Regions from separate parts of the Homo sapiens genome. Here all the other regions are linked to region 1. Evidence: promoter capture Hi-C in human tissues and cell types (Jung and others, 2019). All regions are on one chromosome and are shown on one strand. The core of a region is centred on a gene start or on the middle of the fragment in contact, and the rest is flanking DNA. Distances in the headings are between cores, read along the strand shown.

Region 1 (3,069 bases), core at 193-2,692:
GGTGCATGCCACCACAACTGGCTGACTTTGGTATTTTTTTGGGGGGTACAGATGGGGTTTTGCCATGTTGCCCAGGCTGGTCTTGAACTCCAGGCTCAAGCAATCCACTTGCCTCAGCCTCCCGAAGTGCTGAGATCATAGGCATGGGCCACCGTGCCTAGTCTATAATAAAGCTTGTTATCCGGTAGCACAAGTTTTCCTCCTCCCACTCCTTCTCCTCTTCTTTTTTTTTCTTCCTCCTCTTCCTCATGAATGCTTGTCTTTGCTCTTCCATAACATTTTGAATTAGCTTGTCAAGTTTCTCACACATACACAGAAATTTATTGAGATTTTGTTGGGAATTGCACTGGCTCTGTAGGTAGGTTTGGAGAGACTTGGCATTTTTCAGTATTGACTCTTCCAATTTATGAACATGTTACATCTTTATTTAGGTCTTCTTCAGTGTCTTCCAATGTTTTCTTCAGGCAGGTTTTGCATTTCTTTGATCGATTTATTCCTAGGTACTTGATATTTGTTTGGAGCTGTTGGAAATGGTATCTTTAAAAAAATTATCTTTTTTACTAGCATATATAAATAAATATTGATTTTTTAAAATATGATTTTTGTATCTATTAACCTTGTTAAAAACTTTTATTGTTAACAGTTTATCTGCAGATTGTTTTGAAGTGCCACAAACAATTTTTTTTTTTTTTTGAGACGGAGTTCTGCTCTTGTTGCCCAGGCTGGAGTGCAGTGGCGCGATATCAGCTCACTGCAACCTCCGCCTCCTGGGTTCAAGCAATTCTCCCGCCTCAGCTCCCCGAGAGGCTGGAATTACAGGCGTCCGCCACCTCGCCCTGCTAAGTTCGTATCTGTAGTAGAGACGGGGTTTCACCATGTTGGCCAGGCTGGTCTCGAATTCCCGACCTCAGGTGATCCTCCCGTCTTGGCCTCACAAACTGCTGGGATTACAGGCATGAGCCAACGGCGCCCGGCCTCCACGTACATAATTACATAATCTATGAAAAAATAATTTTGTTTCTTCCTATTTAATCTTCAATCCTTTTATTTTTCTTGCCTCACTCCACTGGCTAAGGACCTTTGGCTTCAATAATGGGTAGTCTCATCTGTAGCACACTTAATCATCACTAAGCTTTCCCAGCCTCAGGTCAATAGTATTAGGAGGTTGGTTCCTCACCGGAGGGTCGGGAACAAGACGCCAGAGCCCTTCTTCCAGCGCCTGCAGCGAGTTAAGGCCGAGGGTATGCCTCTGGCGGGCTCATCTTCCAACACAGAAGACCCCGCCGCCCTCTCTGGTTGCCGCGCAGCTGCGTCGTTCTGACCCAGGGTAGGTGCAGGGCGGCTGGAAGCACGTGCCGCCGCTTCCTCATTCTGGGACTACATCCCCCACAATGCCGCGCGCCGCGGGCGGCTGGCCCCCGAGTGCGGGAAGGGCCGGCAGGGAGGCGGAGCGGAAGCCGAGTGCGAGGGACGAGCGGAGTAAAATCTCCACAAGCTGGGAACAAACCTCGTCCCAACTCCCACCCACCGGCGTTTCTCCAGCTCGATCTGGAGGCTGCTTCGCCAGTGTGGGACGCAGCTGACGCCCGCTTATTAGCTCTCGCTGCGTCGCCCCGGCTCAGAAGCTCCGTGGCGGCGGCGACCGTGACGAGAAGCCCACGGCCAGGTAATGAGTAAGGGGCGAGTCCGCCAGCCGGGCCCGCACCTCTCGCGCGCCCCTCAGCCTAGCCGGCCGCTCCTCCCCCGCCGCGCCCCCGTCCCCGGTCCCCGCCCCGCTAGGGCCGCTGCTGCGGAAACCCGGCTTAGGAACGGGCCGGCAGCCTCCGGCCGCGGCCGGGAAGGCTCTTTGTCCCTTCCTTTGGGCCGCGTCTCTGCCCCTCCGCGTCTGACAGCCGCGGCGCCTCGGCTCGGGCGGAGAGCCGAGCGTGGCTGGGGCTGCGCGAGTCGAGCGGGGCGGGCTTGGTCCGGAGCTGCGGGATGTAGATCCCGGGCGGCACCGCACTCACTTCTTTTTCTGTTTTTGACAGCTCAGTTCTCTTCTACTTTGGGAGAGAGAGAAAGTCAGATGCCCCTTTTAAACTCCCTCTTCAAAACTCATCTCCTGGGTGACTGGTAAGGATGAACTTAAACTGCCGTGTTGATTGTTGACTGTGACGGTAATGAGAATGGCTCAGCCAGCTAGGGTTCGAATCCTGCCTGGGTTTCTCTCACTGCCTGCCTTGGTGATCTTGGTTACTTAAAGGCTCTAAGCTTGAGTTTTCTCATCCATCAAAACACACACCTGTAAGTGGTTAGAATTAGGAATATAGACCTATAACGTCATTAGTTCTTCATTTGATGAAAAGATCCTTTGTGATACTTTCATTAGCTATGACTGAAGTGACCGAAGTGGCCTCTGGACTTGAGTTTTGTGCTTTTGTTTGTTTAATCATCCTGGGTTGTGTGTTCTTCACTTTATCTTAAACCTAACCAAAGGATTCATTAAAATATGCCGTCTTCCTAATTTTTGCTGTTTTAAGATGGCTGAGAATGTTCTTAGGAAATTGATGACTCTGCTTTTCTGTGGATCAGCTTCAGAGGTACAAGTATTCACCTCTCCCCTCCCCCTCAGGTGTGTCCTTTGGGAATCCTTAGAGGCGCTAAGTGTTTGTTTCGTCAGAGTAGGCATCCAGGTATTTTACAGTCCTGCCTCTGGGCTTCACCATATTTAACCTGGGTCAACTTTTTTCTACATCTGTCTGCATCTTCTCACTGATTAATAATTTCTCACTCTAAAATGTGTTGCAAAAATACTTGTTTTGAGGAAAATGTTTCTATGTTGGTGTTATTTAGTGCAGTGTAGGACAGAGAGTAATGGCTACGGAAATAGGAGTCCTTAGTTTTGTCCTTGCTCTGTCACTATCTGTGTAACCTGAGATTACTTTGTGGTCCTCAATGTCCTCATCTCTAAAATAGTGAATTGGTCTGATTCCAAGGACTCTTCTAGCTCAGACTTTCAATGATAAAGGTTTTTAGAGGTTTTTTTTTAAATGTGGAAACAAAATTTGTGTAAACCCTTTTAGTCATTTG
Region 2 (3,484 bases), core at 606-3,105, 540 kb after region 1:
GAAAATAGAGACAGCAGGTGTATTCTTAGATTATAGGAATTTAGTAGTAAAGAGAAATATATGTCAGCTATGGACACTGGGTGATTGTTTGATTTATCTTATCTCTGGTTATAGCCTTTCTAGTGTAAACCCCATGGTACTGCATACACTACTAGAATTGCCTTTTCTGCTTGGAAATATGCTGACTGGCCCAACTCCTACATATATTGCAGCAGGAGTCTCAGTATATGGCTCAGCAGGTTGTAGATTGCACAATGCATGCAAATGGTGTGAATGATGTTCCTGAGAATTGTACAGTGTACAGCCTGAGCAACCATATACAGCAACCCTGATTTTAGCACTCTGTTTTGAAGCAGAGAAGTAAGTATGTGCTACATTGTTTGTTTGACTCTGAATATATTCCTTTTTGTCTGGCAAGGTTGGGGAAATGATGCATCTGTCTTCTCTCATTTATGGCCAGAGTATAAATATCATTAAAAAGTAAATAATGACAAAAATAAATCTTATAAGCATATCTCTGACAGTAGTAGTAGCTGTCTTGAGGAGAACATATGGTCATTGGCTGAGTATGGGATAATAAACACATAGAGAGAAATTCAATAGAAACTCAAGGTCATAAATGTAATGATTCTCCATTGGAGAGCAGTACACAGTTATTATTTTCAAGTAATATTCCTTGCTTCACAGGAGTAAACAAGGCTGGATACTTAAAACATCTTGCAAAATCATTACCTGGTAGAAGCATTAAGCAGGCTTGAATTTAATAGCATTAAAGCTACAGGGAAAAATGTAAAAATTGTTCTTAGAAAATTGATCTTAATATATATTAACATTCTGATATATGTCAAGTATTAAAGTTGAACACATGAGTGTATATGGAAAATCAGAAAATGAAAAAATAACTTAATCTAAACTTCTCATTTTACAGAAGAAGAAACCGGACATAACAAGTAATTTGTCTAAAGTCACACAACTAGTTTGTATCAAAATTGGAACTAGACATTTAGATCCTTACTAAATGCAGCCACCAGCAGCTATTTACAAAATCATATTCTAATACATAAAAAATCTTCTAAATAAGGGAGTTTAGATGAATTGTTTTGCAAATTAAATCCATATGTATCCTACTTCAAGCAAATCTGAAATGTAAAATTACAGATTTACAAAATATATAAATTAGAAGATAACTTTAAGGTGATTATATGTATTACATATATAGATGTATATATAATAATAACTGGAATCATATATATATATGATCCCCTTAAATAGCAAACGCTTCCTTTTCTGGATTCTTTTACTTAAAATGCAACCTGACTCACAAAAGTTCAGTCAGCTTACACATTTAAAAAAGAATCTACTGTACAAAGCAAAGTTTATCTGTAAGTGTCATCCAATTTGTAACTTTTAAAACTCCCATTTTCATATGTTCTACAGAGAAGCATAGCACTAAAAAGGATTTATTAGTTTTCTTGAATATCTGGACCATCTTAAAGATTAGCACTTCAGAGCTGGCAAGCACAAGACTTCTAATTATGGCTCTAGCTGTAGTAGGATTCTGAATACATTTTCCCACATCTATTTCCTGAACCTTCTGCATTTGAGTGTTTTCCTTAGTGATGAATGAATGTGTAGAATATGGATGTTTTTTGCATGTGATCTTGACCTAAGTATTATGGATGCAAATGGTATCAGATAAGTTTCCTTGTTCCAAGTTTCATGTCAGAATTCAGCTCCTATTGAACAGAGCCCTGTTTGGCTGAATAGAGAGAAATTTTCTAAGATTGGTAGAAATGGCCTCAAAAGATTTTGAATTCCATTGGTGTTCAGTATGTTGCAATAATGAAATTTTGCTGAAATTTCCTTTAATATTCAGGAATCGGTTGAGCAGAGAGGGATTTTATCAGAAATTTAATTCCCACTGACCCCACAGGGTGGCTGGGAGAATCCAATAAGATGATGGGAGCAAAAGTGCCTTGTAAATGGTAAAGAACCACATAAAAATGCCATGTAACCAGATTTAAGCTTTAGGTTGGCCAGACATGTGTTGAGTAAGGACATTACTACAGGAGCATTAGTAAGGGGATATTATCACAGCTATGCTGCCCCGAACATGCCCCATCTCCTCTAATCTCAGAAGCTAAGCAGGGCAGGGCCTGGCTAGTACTTGGATGGGAGAAAGGGAACATCAGAGGACTTGCAGAGTCATGGTAGTGAGATGATTTTAACCCCTTCTGCTTTGGGAAGGGCAGGAATGTACTATTTACGGTTTGCAGTCCAGCGCAAGAGCCCCAGATAGGAGGTGGTTGTGGTCTAGAGTTGGCTAGTCTAGGGTCAGCAAGGCCCCAGATGTCAAAACATCAAAAATACAGAAAATAAAAAGGACATGCTTACTACAAGAGAACACGTTAAATGAAGATTTCTACTGCTTAGGCTGATGGCCTGTCAACACAACCTCCCAGTGTATACTAAAGAGACTGTGAAGTCCCCTCAAATGACCCCATCTTGGGATGGCTTAGAGGCCTAGGAGGTGGGGCAAGTACCCAGGGGAGGAGGCAGGGGGCAGATGCCACACAGGGGCCTAAGAAGCTGTGGAAAGTCTGAAAAGGACTTCCTTAGGAGGACTCTTGATGTGGTGATTAACTGACATAATAACCTTTTTCCTACCAGTTTTGGAGATTGCTGAGAAACACTTTCTCTACCTGGTCAGATTTAAAGGAGCACTGTGATATGGGTTTTTAATTTGATGCAGTACTCAGCAGGTATAACAACAATTGTGTTTTTCTTACTAGAAAGACCTTTCTCTTGTGTCTTTTAAGGTTTCGTAGAGAAAAGGTGGATCACTCTGTGTTCTTTTCTCCTTTAGGCCATTTCTAAAGAAAAAAAAATCAGGTCTTCTGTGCTCACAATGCCTTAGCTATATATGTAGGTATATAGGATCAACAACTTATGCAAGAGAACTCAGTCATGCCAGGAAGACCAGCAAAAGCCTGGTTCCTGCAACTGTTCTGGGACCAAGCCTCCCTTCTTCCTGCCAGTGGTGGGCCATGGCCAGGGAAATGTAAATTTGCCATTTAAAGATCCTAGCCTTCTTTGGTTTGAACATCTCCATTGAGTAAATGATCTACATCAGCCTTATGGGCTTCTCTACCCTGGCATCTCTCAGTCAAAATGGTGTCTGGATGAGGGCAGGAGCTTTAGGGGAAGGAAGTTGGTCTGTGTGGGTTTCTGTGTGGTCGCCGGGTTTCTCTTCCTCTGTGGGGATGCCATTAGTCTCCTTGGTCACTGGGTATCCTGCTCGTGTCTGCTGTCATAGTCCACCCTGGGGTAAGCTTCTGGTCTTTCTAGGGGACACATCAGGGACAGGCTATTTCCTATCCCATCTCCTGCGGGCTCTCCTCTGAACTGCTCTTTTTCCAACAGTAGGGCTTTCCCCATCCTTCCTGTCTGGTGGGCTACCCCCTACTCCCTTCCCAGCAGAGCC
Region 3 (3,199 bases), core at 200-2,699, 820 kb after region 1:
GGTGACGGTGCTTTTAACTATGCAAATATAATGAAGCTCCCAACTTAGTAATGGTTCACTTAACCTAAAGTAAACTGAAAAGCCAGGCAGTGAGCCCTGTGCTTTATTGACTGAAGGCCATATAATGAATTTCCTTTTAAAAAGTGCATTTCATGTTGCCTTTATTTACTGATTTCTCACGAATAATCAACTTTAACCATTTTTAACTACTATTTTAACCATTTTAAACATAGTTGCAGAAACTTCTGATTCAAGGTGATAGACTGACTTCATATTTTCATATCCTCTCTCTCCATAGGCCTCCAGGGGAAGGTAAATGAGGTCATTCATTTATTCACTGCTACAGCATCAGGCACAGTTCTGGGTAAAAGTATCATGGTAATAGGCAAGACAGATAAAGACTATTCTCACAACACTTGAACATCCTAGATGAGTAGAGGTAGATGATAAACAGAATATGAACCTGAAATTACTGAGACTGAGATAGGTATTATGACCAAAGTGAAACAGGATGATTTTATAGAAAGTAAATTGGCAGCCATATCGTCAGGGACATTTAAGCTAAGACCTCAATGACAAGAAAGAATTAGCCCTGTAAAAATAGGAGGCAACAGCTATGGTAAAATCATTAAAATGAGAATGTGCTTGACCTTTTTAAGAAATCAAAAGTAGGCCCGTGTGATTGAGCATACTGAGAGAGGGGAAGAATAAATGGAGTTGAGAAGAAAGATCAGGGCAGATCATATGTGGCCTGTAGGAAGCCTGGAGTAAGAAGTAGGAGCACATTGTATAGGACCATGGCCCATGGAGACCACAGAAAGTGGGGACCAGATGGCATAGGCCCATGGCCCAGGGTAAAGTGTTTGGATTTTATGTTAAGAAAGCAGAGAAGTCCTTAGAGCATTTTAATCAAGGCTCAAAATACCCTTATTTGTGCTTTTAAAAGGGCATTCTGTGCAGAAGAATTCCAAGTTATTTATGTGGATACTTTGCCCTCAACGTAGTGGAACACAACTCCCTACTCCTTAAGTGTGTACTGGACATAATTACATTCTTCTTAAGAGTACTATATGGAAAGGATGGGAAAAGTAACTTTACAGTGGAGAAACCTGAAAACACTACCTTAGCCAGATGGTCAAAGTCAACATCAATGGTGATAAGTCATGTTGATAGTATATACCTTTGATATGATGTAATAAGAATGATACTTTACCTCGTCGTCTCCCACTCCAAAATTCATAACTTCAGTCTAAACATGAAAAAAAATCGGACAAATCCCAGTGATGGACATTCTACAAAATACCTGACCAGTACTCCTCGAAGTCATCAAAATAAGAAAAGTCTGAGAAAAAAATCCAGCCAAGAGGAGCCTAAGGAGAATGATGACTAAATCTAACGTGGGATCTTGGGTCAGAAAAAGGACGTTAGGTAAACACTAAGGGAGTCTGAGCAAAGTATAAGTATGAGCTTTAGTTAATAATAATGTACCAGTATTTATTCATTAATTATGACAAATACACCATACTACTATGTTAGTAACAGAGGAAATTGGGGGTAGGATATATGGGAACTTTCTGTACTATCTTCACAATTTTTCTGTAAATCTAAAACTGTTCTACAATTAAAAGTTTATTTTAAAAAAGTCTATTCTAGCTGCCATGTGCAAACTGAACTCTGGAGCACAAAAACAGCACTTTCTCATTCTAGTATCCCCTGGGTCCCTGAAAACCAGATTCTTTGTATTTTAAAAAGGAATTACAGATATAAGATAGAAGAGTTCATACTAATACTTGCCATTTAAATCCAAGACTACAGAGCTTTTACATAATCTGCTCTACCTCAGGCTAATTGGAGGATTGTTCTCTACAGAAATAAATGATTACAGGGCAAAGGTCTCTGAATTCAAGCATTTTTGGAACTCTCAGAATAAGAGCCAGTTTCATGCCTGATGACCCTAAAAAGAAGCCTGCCAATCAGTAACCTGCCTCATATCAGGTTCTTAATAAGTTTCAAGGCCTTACCCTTAAAATGTGTGGATAGCCAAGAAAGATGAGACATCCAAGGAAAGCCTTGGACACGGAAGAAAGAACCAAGAAAAACACAGGGAAAAAGCATAACACCAGAAGGAACATATAATTCAAGAAACAAAAGAAAACTTAAAGGAAAATAAATTAATGATTATCTTCGGGGATATTTGAGAAGATATTGCATGATGAAAACATAACAGAATGCTATGAAAAAAATGGAGGAAATAACCCTTAGATATAAAAGATATATTTAATAATAACTGAAATAAAGAGTTAAGTTCAAATAGTAAAGAGTTAAGTTCAAAGACAAATTTAGAATTATCTTTCAGAAAGAAGTATCCCAAAAAAGAGATGGAAAATATAACAAAAATAATTAAAGGTTATGGATTATCATTCTAGAAGATCTGACATCAGACTAATAAGAGACCGAAAAGAAAAGAAAACAAGGAAAAAAATGATCAAATGAAAAATATGAGAGAATTTCCAAGATCTAAAGTACAGGGGTGCTCATACTTAGAAAATCCAGCAAGTGCCCAGCCTAGTAAAATAAAAACATTCACAGCAGGTTGTGAAATGTCAGAATATTAATTTTTAAAAAAATATCTGAAAATCTTCCCACCAGAGAAGCTTCCCTGGTCCTGTACAAGAAACAAAATACCACACTAGCCTCAAGGTTTCTCATGAAGTTAGAAGACACTGAAGAAGGGACTCAACATTTCTGACAGAAAACCATTTTCACTTATCATTCTATACCTAGCCAAACTGTCAATCAAGTGGGAAACTAGAATAAATACATGTTTAAATCTACACAGGCTTGGAAATTCATAGCCCACACCAGTTACCATAGGAGATGACTTGATGTGACCCAGAACAAAAAGTAAAGGAAATCAAAGAAAGAGGAGGCTGCCCTGAAGCCTCAAGTACTCAATGGTGCAGTAAGAAACAAAATACAAGAGTTGGGATTTGTAATTATAGAGTAGCAAGATATTTGGATCCTAGAACTCAACATCAAGGCCAGATGGCATGGCTTGGAACACCCTGGTTCCCTCCTTTGAAAGGGGAAAAAGGCAGAAAGCCTGCCGTTCTAGGGTTCCCTGACCAGTCAGGTCACTTACCCTCCTGGCTGCTGGGACCCCTAGATTTTTACGAGAAACAAGGGAAGCTGTGAGGTG

What was found. The method cuts DNA at HindIII sites, captures the fragments that hold promoters and counts their contacts. A contact is called where the count stands out against the background at its distance.
Region 2: a contact is called between a fragment that was not itself captured here and the fragment with the promoter of CCDC126 in region 1, in 1 of the 25 tissues and cell types used here (mesenchymal stem cells).
Region 3: a fragment that was not itself captured here is called in contact with the fragment with the promoter of CCDC126 in region 1 in 2 of the 25 tissues and cell types used here (lymphoblastoid cells and thymus).

What each region holds. Positions count from the first base shown.
Region 1 is chr7:23,595,940-23,599,008 of GRCh38, forward strand. CCDC126 (coiled-coil domain containing 126) reads left to right here and starts at 1,443. Exons shown (of 4, transcript NM_138771.4): 1 at 1,443-1,666; 2 at 2,028-2,112. It overlaps LOC105375187 (a long non-coding RNA gene), which reads right to left and starts at 1,386. Exons shown (of 2, transcript XR_927098.2): 1 at 1,178-1,386. RefSeq lists a silencer at 1,685-1,924. The HindIII fragment of the contact is 2,823 bases long and covers 653-3,069 here.
Region 2 is chr7:24,130,616-24,134,099 of GRCh38, forward strand. It overlaps the pseudogene RNA5SP228. Among named protein-coding and RNA genes, the nearest start is that of NPY, 150 kb to the right of the region's middle. The HindIII fragment of the contact is 3,348 bases long and covers 182-3,484 here.
Region 3 is chr7:24,411,406-24,414,604 of GRCh38, forward strand. The region is part of intron 1 of LOC107986777 (a long non-coding RNA gene); the gene reads right to left. Among named protein-coding and RNA genes, the nearest start is that of NPY, 130 kb to the left of the region's middle. The HindIII fragment of the contact is 7,052 bases long and covers 1-3,199 here.